2 separate regions of the Homo sapiens genome follow, and region 1 is linked to region 2. The links are contacts of gene promoters, found by promoter capture Hi-C in blood cells and fetal thymus (Javierre and others, 2016). All regions are on one chromosome and are shown on one strand. The core of a region is centred on a gene start or on the middle of the fragment in contact, and the rest is flanking DNA. Distances in the headings are between cores, read along the strand shown.

Evidence for each region. Contacts are between HindIII fragments. The CHiCAGO score rates a contact against its expected background, and 5 or more counts as called.
Region 1: a fragment that was not itself captured here is called in contact with the fragment with the promoter of GPRC5B in region 2 in 1 of 17 cell types (M2 macrophages); the score reaches 5.2 in M2 macrophages.

The regions. Positions count from the first base shown.
Region 1 is chr16:20,403,667-20,409,151 of GRCh38, reverse strand. It overlaps PDILT (protein disulfide isomerase like, testis expressed), which reads left to right and starts at 4,415. Exons shown (of 12, transcript NM_174924.2): 1 at 4,415-4,656. The HindIII fragment of the contact is 472 bases long and covers 1,859-2,330 here.
Region 2 is chr16:19,881,384-19,886,986 of GRCh38, reverse strand. GPRC5B (G protein-coupled receptor class C group 5 member B) reads left to right here and starts at 2,139. Exons shown (of 4, transcript NM_016235.3): 1 at 2,139-2,260. RefSeq lists a silencer at 1,586-1,880 and enhancers at 3,396-4,126, 4,127-4,856, 4,857-5,588, 5,589-5,603. The HindIII fragment of the contact is 5,537 bases long and covers 1-4,103 here.

The DNA.
Region 1 (5,485 bases), core at 845-3,344, 520 kb before region 2:
CAGGCGCCCACCACCATGCCCGGCTAATTTTTTGTATTTTTTAGTAGAGACGGGGTTTCACCGTGTTAGCCAGGACGGTCTCGATCTCCTGACCTCGTGATCCGCCCGCCTCGGCCTCCCAAAGTGCTGGGATTATGATGTTTTAACAGAAAAGGTGCAATAGTGATAATAATATAAGTCAGACTTTGTTTCTTTTCTGCTTAGAACCCTCCAGTAGATACAGAGAGAACAGAGGAGTGGTTCCAGGGAACGGCTCTAAGGCATCCCTTTGAAGTCATAGAATTGTTCTAAATTTGGATTGTGGTCATGACTGCAGATCTCTGTAAATTTACTACAAAAAATAGTAATAATAATTGTACACTGCCAAAAGAAGTTTTTTGGGTTTTTTTGTTTGTTTTTGGAGACAGGCTCTTGCTCTGTCGCCCAGGCTGGAGTGCAGTGGCGCAATCTTGGCTCACTGCAACCTCCACCTCCCGGGTTCAAGCGATCCTCCCACCTCAACCTCCCGAGTAGCGGGGAATATAGGCATGCACCACCATGCCTGGCTAATTTTTGTATTTTTTTGGTAGAGATGGGGTTTCAACATGTTGGCCAGGTTGGTCTCAAATTCCTGACCTTAAGTGATCTGCCTGCTTTGGCCTCCCAAAGTGCTGGGATTATAGGTGGGAGCCACTGCACCTGGCCCAAAGGTGGTTTTTCGAAAAAGCTTCCTGCAACTCCCTATCTCACTCACAGTCCAAGCCAAAGTCCTGACGATTGCCGGGTGGGATGGCTCACGCCTGTAATCCCAACACTTTGGGAGGCCAAGGCGGGCGGATCACGAGGTCTGAAGATTGAGACCATCCTGACTAACACGGCGAAACCCTGTCTCTACTAAAAATACAAAAATTAGTCAGGCGTGGTGGCGCCTGTAGTCCCAGCTACTCTGGTGGGCGCCTGTAGTCCCAGCTACTCTGGAGGCTGAGGCAGGAGAATGGCATGAACCTGGGAGGCACAGGTTGCAGTGAGCCGAGATCGTGCCACTGCACTCCAGCCTGGGAGACAGAGTGAGACTCCGTCTCAAAAAAAAAAAAAAAGTCCTGGCAATTGCCTACAGGGCCCCACAGGAATTCCTGTGAGCCTTTCGCCTCAAACCTCCTGTCTCAGTCTGCTCCAGCCATACCGGTCTTTTTGTTGTTTGTTCTCTGAAGTTCTTTTTAAATTATTTTTAATTTTTGTGGGTACATAGTAGGTATATACATTTATGGGTTACATGAGATATTTTGATACAGGCATGCAATGCGTTAGAATCACATCAGGGTAAATGGGGTGTCCATCACCTCAAACATTTATCCTTTGTGTTACAAACAATCCATTTATACTATTGTAGTTATTTTAGGTGTATGGTTACATTATTTTTGAAGATAGTCATCCTATTGTGCTAGGAAATACTAGGCCTTATTCATTCACTCTTACTACTTTTTTGTACCCATTAACCATCCCCACTTCTCCTCCAACTCCCTGCAACACTTTCCAGCCTCTGGTAACCGTCCTTCTACTGTCTCCATGAGTTCATTTGTTTTCCTGTTTAGCTCCCACAGGTAAGCGAGAATGTGCAATGTTTGCTTTCTATGCCTGGCTTACTTCCCTTAATGTAATGACTTCCAGTTCCATCCATGTTGTTGCAAATGACAGGGTTATGGGTGTCCTATAGAGAGGATGCTGAGCCATTAACTGCCTATCTTTGCAGTGATTCAAACTTCACCCTGGATTTTTATCCATCACTGTATGTTGTTCCCCTGTGACTCTGTCTCATTTCCTGGCCTGGCCAGTTTGGCCCATTTCCACGCAGGCAGCTCCTCTCCCTTGCCGCCAAGCTTGGCCACAGGGAACCATCTTATGAGCCCTCAATGTCCATTTGCTCAGCATTCAGTCCTCTACTGCGACCCAGGATACAACCTCATCTCTGAATCTGCAGCCAGATGTAAAGATACAATCTCTACCCTCAGAGGGGTGGACGGACTGTTGAACATTATTTCTCCAGCAGTCTAATCTCAATATCGTTACTCTCAATCAGTACTTTTTAGAAGAATATATAATCATAAGTCATGACAAATGTTTCATAAATGTTCAATGAAAGAACTGGATACACTTTATAGACAATATAATCACAATTTTATTTTTAAAAAGTATATATTAATCCCATACGTAACAAAATATGAATGTTTCTCTAAGTAAGATGATGTATGATTTCAATTAACTCATTTTTTCTGTATGTTCTATGTTTTAGAAATTAAATCCTGTTCTTTTCTAATCAGAAAGAAATTAATGTTATTTTATAAAAAGAAGCTTTAAGCCGGGCACAGTGGCTCACGCCTGTAATCCCAGCACTTTGGGAGGCCGAGGTAGGTGGATCACCTGAGGTCAGGCGTTTGAGACCAGTTTGGCCAAAATGGTGAAACCTCGTCTCTACTAAAAATACAAAAATTAGCCGGCCGTGGTGGTGCATGCCTGTAATCCCAGTTACTCAGGAGGCTGAGGCAGGAGAATTACTTGAACTCAGGAGGCGGAGGTTGCAGTGAGCCAAGATTGCACCACTGCACCCCAGCCTGGGCAAGAGAGCAAGACTCTGTCAAAAAAAAAAAAAGCAGCAGCAGCTTTATCAGTAAATGAGTATCATCATAAAAGTGCCTATGTTATGTCAAGAAACAACTGTGTGCAAGAGTGAAGGAAAATGAATGAAGGACATTTGGGATAATAACCCAAGTGTTTTAGTTTGTGACTAACAGTTGACAAGTGTGAAAGATGTCAAAATAATATATGCCAGACTAGATTGTTGATTTAGGCCTGGGAGAAAAAAGAGTCAAACACATCCCAGGAATTATTTGCAAACACAACATCCAGAAAAGGAATAATTGCCAAGAAAAGTTGAAAGGGACATGATGAGTTCAAATTAAGACATTCAGATATTCAGTGAGTGTGGTTCAACCAAAAAGAGCTTTTCTAATAGGCAGATGGAAAACGGTCTTAATAGTAAATGTAATCAATTGATCAAATCCTGGAGAGTAAATGAGAGAGTAACTTATAAAGGGGTGTATTTGAAGTCATGCATTTAAACAAGCCAACAAAAGTATGGAAGTTAAGTATGGAAAGAGAAGAGTGGGGCCGCATGCCGTGGCTCACGCCTGTAATCCCAGCACTTTGGGAGGCCGAGGCAGGCAGATCATTTGAGGTCAGGAGTTTGAGACCGACCTGGCCAATGTGGTGAAACCCCGTCTCTACTAAAAATACAAAAATTAGCCAGACGTGGTGGTGCATGCCTGTAGTCCCAGCTACTCAGGAGGCTGAGGCAGGAGAACCGCTTGAACCCTGGAGGTGAAGGCTACAGTGAGTGGAGATCGCGCCACTACACTGTCTCAAAGAAAAAGAAAAGAAAGAGAAGAGCAAAGCGCTAGGACTAAAACCCACAGATGTTAAAATTTAGTGAAATGAATGTTAGTCATCTCCATCAGTATTTAATAACAGTTGGGCAGCAGATAGCCAAAGGCTGCAAACTCTGACAGTAATAACGATGCTAATAATATCAACAGCCTTTTCTTTATTCATTCAACAAATATTTACTGAGCACCTATCACCAGGTAAGCAAAGTAAATTATGTGGAGTTTAGAAGAAAATTAATGCTATGAAGGAAAATAAAGCCTGGAAGGAGGATGAGGAACGCCTGAGAGGGGGATGGGGCACTTACAAATTTAAACAAAGTGGCCAGGAAAGGCCCAACTGTGGAAGTGACATTTGGGCAAAGACTGGAACGAGCTAAGGGGTGAACCCTGAGTCCACCTGGGTGAAGAGCCTCCCTAACAGGGGAAACCACAAGTGTAGAGGCCCAGACATTGTATTGGAGGACTGGCAGGGACACCAGTGTGGCTGGAGCAGGGTGAGTGGAGATCTTTCTCCCCTAGGAGATGAGGCCAGGGTGGTGATGCGTGAGGGGCTCCTGCCTTCTAGGTACTGAGCTGCTCGTTTTGCATAAATCCTCTTATTTTATCCCATCCCCCTCTCAGGCGTTCCTCATCATCCTTCCAGGTTTTATTTTTCTTCATATCATTAATTATCTTCTAAATTCCACATAATTTACTTTGCTTACAACACCCCCATGAGTTAGATGCCATGTAACAGGCATGGAAACTGAACCTCAGAAAGAGTAAGTGACATTCTCAAGGCCATACAGCTGTTCAAGACAGAGCTGGGATTCAAATTCCAATCTATAGGCACTGAGTTCAGAGCCCTCCTGGGCCATACCCAGCACCCCACACTGAGTTTTGTTTCTAGCCCCTCAAGCAAACTCAGCAAGGGCTGCCAGGCAGGGCCCCCTCTTACTCAACAATGGCCCATTCTTCTACAGGGTCACCCCTGGTCCTCTAGAACCCCAGAACTCAGAACTTTGCTGCTGAGGCTGCTGTGGCCTCTGTGTGCCCAGGAAGGGACTTCATTTCTGCCTGTGGATTCTTTAGAATGCCCAGTCGTCTGCGGGTCCTGCCCTGATCACAAGGAGAAGCCAGGAGCCTCCTCTTCAGGCTACAACCTTCCTTCTTAAGGGCCACAGAGTTTGTGGCCCCACCCCCAGCACAGCCCCACCTTGGCCCCAGGAACCCTGGGAGTGGCCTTGGCTTCCTGCAGGTATGAGCTTCAGTGAAAATGGGAAATCTGACTGATGGGCCCTGCCTTGGGAGGCTTTTCTCTACCAGGAGTCACCAGTTTAAGTTTTAAGTGTCAGTTTTGGTGTATAGATGGCTACACATTAGGATCAACTTGAGGATTTTAAAAAATAATAATAATGCCCAGACTCACCCAACCCCAGATCAATTAAATTAGAACCTACTGGGTTTGGGTTTGAACATCAGTATTTTTTATTAAACTCTCCAAGAGATTCTCAGCATAGTCATGGTTGAGAACCACTGAAATGAACCAATGGGGTTTGCTGTAAGAGTTAAATTAGGCCATTCATTCATTCATTCAACAAACATTCATTGAGTTCCAAATCTGGTACAGGCACTGTTCTGAAGGGGAGAAAACAGCTGTGAACAATGGTATTTACATTAAAAAGTTCAAAATGACAACAACAACAAAGTACACTCATAAATAATAATACAAAATATGATGCAAACAATGGTGATATGGCAGAGAGTGCTGAAAGCTGAGATGGGGTGAGACAGAGTGGCCCGGGAAGACCCTTCTGATGAGCGTGGATTCGAGCTAGGACCCAGAGAACCAGAAAAGGCTGACGATGTGAGGGAAGGGTGCCCCAGACAGAGGCAAAGGCCCCGGGTAGGGTGTGCTTGGGAAAGGGAAGAGGCCAGTGTGGCTCCCCAGAGTGCGGGAGGAGAGAGAGAGAGGAGGGCGATAAGGTCAGATGGGTCCAGAGCCAGTGGGGCCTGGTAGACCACAGAGAACAGTTTGGCTGGTGTGCGGTTTTGCGAATGGATTGTAAAAAAAAAAGAGGCAGAAG
Region 2 (5,603 bases), core at 890-3,389:
CTTGGCCTCAGTGTCTCCATCTGTAAAACAGGGAGAATAACAGTCTCTGGCCTAAAGGGTAACTGGGAGGATTAAATGAATTAAAGAATTTAAAACACTTAGAATAGCTCCTGGCACACAGAAAGCACTATGTACTCAGCTATTATTGTTATTATTATCATCCATGGGTGTTTGAACTTTTTGGAGGGAAGGAATGCACCTGCCACTCAATGTCCTCCTTCATTTTCACTCTGTGCTCCCTGTGGTATCATCACCCAAAGTGAAACTGACCATCACAGTCAGGGTCCTCTGTAAAACAAGTGGGAAAGGGAATATAACCGTAACTGCAATGTTAATCAGCTCATATTAAGGATTTTCCACATGCCAGACCCTGCGTGAAGCACTTTATATGTTAGCACGTGTTAGACCTTCACAACAACCCCAATAGGCATGTGCGATGAAAAAGATCTCCATTTTGCAGACGTTGAGGACATGTGGCTCACGAAAGTGAACTTGCCCACGTTGACAAAAGGATCTCGGCGTCAGTTCCAAGAGCTGCCACCAGGTGACAGTGCCCATCCACTTTCCAATTGCGCAGTCTGGCGGGAACACACTTTGGGTCGTCCCGCAAACATTTAATGAGCGCCTACTGTGCCTGGAACTGTTCTGGGCTCTGAGGATCCATGCAAATAAACCAGGAGTGGGGCGAAAAACTGCCATTATGGTTCTTCCTTTCCATTTTCCCTTGAATATAATAAAAGGTATCCCAGAGATGCGTGCCCAAGGGGGATGTGGCCTAACCGGACCGGAACTGGGAGGCTGGCAGGGAGGGATGGGAGTATCTGGAAGGGCCACGGTCCCCAAAGATCAGGGGCTGCCACTATTCCCAGAAGGAGGTGTTCTGCATCTCCCCTTCCTGCAGCCCCCGGGAGAGGGGAGCAGGGGTCCGTCCTATCCCTTTTGGTCTTATGTGGCTGGGATGGTTGCGGCGACGGGGGTAGAGATTGGGGGGCGCACCGCGGAGGGAGAAAGGAAATCTCACCCTGAGAATCTGGAGTGCAGGGAAGGGATGCTGCTCAAAGGTCTGTTTCTGGCTTTGGCGGGGGGCCACCTGAGACTGCCAGGGTTTGATGGTCTGAAGGTCACCCAGGGAACCAGCCCCATATGGGGTGCCGGAGCGCAGCTCCCAGGCCTGGTCGAAGCAATGCGACCTCGGAGAGGCCTGAGGACTAGGACGGGGTGAGGGGGACTCAGAGACGGCTGCCCCGGACCCCTCCTTCAAGCAGGTCCCACGGCCGCCCAGCGGACACGCGTCCGGGCTGTGCCCTGACCGTCTGCGGAGCGCACGGCCAGTGGCCCGGGCCGCTGAGTGTGTGAGCCCTGAAGGGCAGTGGACATGTGCGTACGTGGGTGATGTGTGCGGTAGGGGTGGTGGCGATCCTGCGTAGGGACCCACGTGAGGGGTGCACCGACTGGACGTGTGTGTTTCGAGGGGCCAAGGAAGCGGGTGTTGGTCCCAGTGTGCGTAAACGGACAACGACATCTGGGAGTTGGGCAGTGAGGAGAGAGAAGAGTGTGTCCAGGAGGAACCTGCCTGGAGGAGGCCTAGCGGTGTGTGTGCGCCTAGGTGTATACCGGGGCGTTGGTGACTTCGAGAGGCACCGGGCGGGATCGATCCTCTCTGCGTCCTGGACCTGGTGCTGGTGTGTTTCGGGGAAGTTACTGCTTATGAACCCCCCTTGGAGCGTGGCCTGGGGGCAGGAAGGCTTCCGCGCTGGGACCCCTGGGTCGCGATACCTCCCTCGGTAAGTGTATTGGCTAGGGGAGTGTTCCCGCAAATGGATCTACCCTGGGGAGTTGCCCGGCTCGTCTGGACTGCTTACGGGCGCACTGACGTTGTGGGGGGAATGTCCCCGAATTGGGGGCACGAGGTCGGGGGAATCGTCTCTGAGATCCGGGCTAGAAGCTACGAGCTTGGGCTCCGGGGGTGCATGCAGACGGCGCCTAGCCCCGCGCGGAACCGCCGGCGGGACCGGGGGTGGGGCTCGGAGGCCCGGGGGCGGGGCCGGCCGGGGGCGGGGGCGGGGGCGGGGCCGCGGCCGCTGCAGCAGCGCGGGCCGGGCCAGGGGGCGCCTCGCGCGGCAGCGACTCTGGCAGGCGCTGCAGTGAAGCTGGACCCGCAGGCGGGCGTGCGTGGAGCGGGGGCCGCGGCCGCGCCGCAGAGATGTGACTCGGGCCGAAGGCCAGCTGGAGCGTCGGCGCTGCGGGGCCGCGGGGGTCGGTAAGTGCGAGCTGCGCCGATGCAGTGGAGGACGCTGTGGGGACCCCAGAAACTTTTCCCGCCGTGGATTTGGGAGAATTGGGGGGTCCGCTTCTTGTGTTTTTCTAAGCGCCCCCCCAACCCAAGCCAGGGAGTTTATTGCTGGGGGAGATGTGGAATCTGGGCGAGGGGAACCACGGTGCGACGAGAGCAGAGCCGTAGAGGGGTGGGCGGGGGAGGGGAGGATCTGGGGACCTTTACGGGGGGAGGGAGACTGTGCCCGGACCAGGTAGAGATCCAAGTCTCCCAGGAGGGTGTGGGGGCGACCACAGGTGAAGGGCAGCTGGGAGGGTAAAGGAGCCCAGCCGTGTCCTAGTGACTCGTCATGTGTGAGGAGCTGCGGGCTGGTCCTGGGGCCGCGTTGGGGGCTGACTGTGGACAGGGCAGACGCAGCCGGGGGCACAAGGGCTGGACTTTGGGGGTGAACAGCCGCACCTGTCGCGGGGGCTGGGGGTCAAGCCCGCAGCCGGCTTGAGTGCGCATTACTCAGCAAGGGGAGGGGGGGACACGGCGGTGGGAGATGGCAGAGCTGAGACCTGGGCTGGGGACGAATGACGGGGAGGGGTGGGGAGGAGGGGGCGGCTGCATACAATGGCGGGGGGGGCAGTGGCGTTTCCCTTCCAGACAGGGGGCACTTGGACCTCTGGAAGAGGCGGCTAGGCTGGAGATAAGGACTAGACCTGTTCTCGGTCCCCTCTCCTTGGGGGACACAGGCTTCCAGCCCCACAAGGACCCCACACATCCCGGGGTCCCTAGCGCTTAGGCCGAAAAGGGAGCGCGCGGGAGGAGCCCGCACCCGCCTTGGCCCCGGGCAGCCGGTTGAACAGCCTGGGAAGGGGCCAACGACCTTGCCCCAGAAATCTCCCCCGTGCAGCGGGTTCACTCCTCCGTCCTTGCTCTGTCACACCCAGGCCTAGCCAGTCCTCCCTTTCCGTCCCCCGTTCGCTAAGGGGGCGGCTCCTTGGAGCGCGGACAAAGGCCCCTGGAGTGTGGCGGGCAGCGGCGTCCCCGCCTGGGGCCCCAGCCCACGCGCCACATTGGCCGCCCAACTGCACCAGGCCGGGGGGCACCTGAACAGAGCCCAGAAAGCCCTGGGGGACCCCGCAAAGACAAGAGAAGTGGGGGAGGGATCTGGCACAAAAACCCCGGCACTTCAGCCAAGGAACCTTCTTAATTCAGAAGTTTCTTCGGTGGGGACTCGGGCTTGCGGAGGATCCAGGCTTTGAGTTAAACTGCATGCAAATGACATGTAAATAGAATGCAAATTGGCATCTGTCGTTTGGAAGCCCTCCCGGCCAGTTTGGTATCTAAGACTGTGGAGTGAACAGTTTGCTATCTGCTCCCTGCTCTAAGCCTGGAAAGGGGTCAGCTGAGTTGGGAAGGGAAGGAGATTCCAGGAGGAAGGAGCCGCCATTTGGGGGCACAGGCAGCAAGACAGGCAGTTTTGTTAGAAAGATAAACTCAGAATCTTTACTGGATTAATATGTTATTTCAAGAAACGTGCCAGGGACAGAACTGGGTGCCTTGTATAAAACGGACAAAACCCCTGCTCTCCCGGGGCTGGGGAAGTGAGTGGACAAACATTAAACAAACCCATAGCAAATGGCTATGAAATCCGATTGGGGTGAGGACGGCCAGGAAAATAAGATGGGGTGATGTAAAAGAAGGTGACAGGGGTGTATGTACCTGAGATGACTGTTCCGGGAGTGACATTTGAGTGGAGCCCAGCTAGAAGAGGGGCCCTCCGCTGGGAGGTCTTGGAGGAAGACTGAACCAGGAGGAAGGCACTGTGCCTGCAAAAGCTTGGAGGTGGGAATGAGCTTAGAGGAACTGAACAAAGGCCATTGTGGCTGGAGCTGTAGGCAGATTTGGGGGTGGGGATAGGGGAATGGTAGGGACCAGCCAGATCATGATCTTTTGGGTCATGGAAAGGAGTTTAGGGTTTATTCTGTTTGGACCAGTGAACCCTTGGAGGGTTTTGAGTGGGAGGCCATGGGATCTGATTTGTAGAAGCTCCCCTGACGTTGACAAGGAAATGGAAAATAGCCCCCCTTTCCATTCTGCCCATGGGGATAGAGAGACGCTGGGAGCCTCCAAGGGGCTCTGTCCAGCCTTGGGGGACCGCTTTGAGCCTAGCCAGCCACTGCAAGCCAACTGGAGGAGCAGCTCAGGTTTTAAAATCCACTCCCTGCTTTCATACAGTTTTTATCCACTCTAACGGAGCCCCCCGGAGCCCACGGCCCCGTAAGCACTTTCTCGCAGAGCTTCCTGGGGGTTCCGCTTAGTCACATTTTCTTCTCGGAATTACAGCCTGAGAGGAACCAACCACTGTGGATCGGGCAGCCAAGGATGCAATTTGCATTTCAATGATTGCTTTTATTTACAGGACTGGAGCTGCTTTGCATATTCATGGATCACAGAGCTTGTGTTCTTGCAACCCTGTTTACTAACCTATGAGGATTTTTTAATTTGAGAGCCCTCAAATGGGCCAGTGGTCTAGTCAGCATTGGGAAATGAAGATGATGAGATCCTGTAACTCGGAAAAGATATCAGAGGGTGAGAATTGGGGGTGTGGGAAAGAGCGGGTCTGAAGTCAGGAAACCTTGTAACAGTTTAATCCTGCAGAGCAGGAAATGGACCAGAGGCTCCAGCAGGAGTGAGTTGGGACAGACTATGATGCTGGGGTGCATGGGGATCTGGCTCTGCAGCCCCATCCTGAGCCTCTGCCACACGTGAGGGATTCAGAACAGGGATGCAGCAGAAACGCCTTGAGGTCAGGAGCTGGGAGAAATGGGGGCTAGTCCCAGGCCAGCCTGTAAATTCCAGTGAACCTCTGGCCAATTTTCCTGACGTCTCTGCCTTCATTTTCGCAACAGGAAAATGGGAATCATGATTGTCTTTCTTTTTTGAGACAGTTTAACTCTGTCGCCCAGGCTGGAGTGCAGTGGCGCAATCTCGGCTCACTGCTAACTCCGCCTCCCGGTTTCAAGAGATCCTCCTGCCTCAGCCTCCCAAGTATCTGGGATTACAGGTGTGCACCACCACGCCCGGCTTATTTTTGTATTTGTAATAGAGACAGGGTTTCACCATGTTGGCCAGGCTGGTTTCAAACTCCTGTCCTCAAGTGATCTGCCCACCCCAGCCTCCTAAAGTGCTGGGATTACAGGCATGAGCCACCGCGCCTGGCCATGATTGACTTTTTAACAAGCAATTCACTAAAAAGCTGTTGCTTCCTCTGTGTCGGGCACCAAACCTGACTTTTCTTTTCTTGTTGTATTTATTTATAATAGAGACAGTCTTGCTA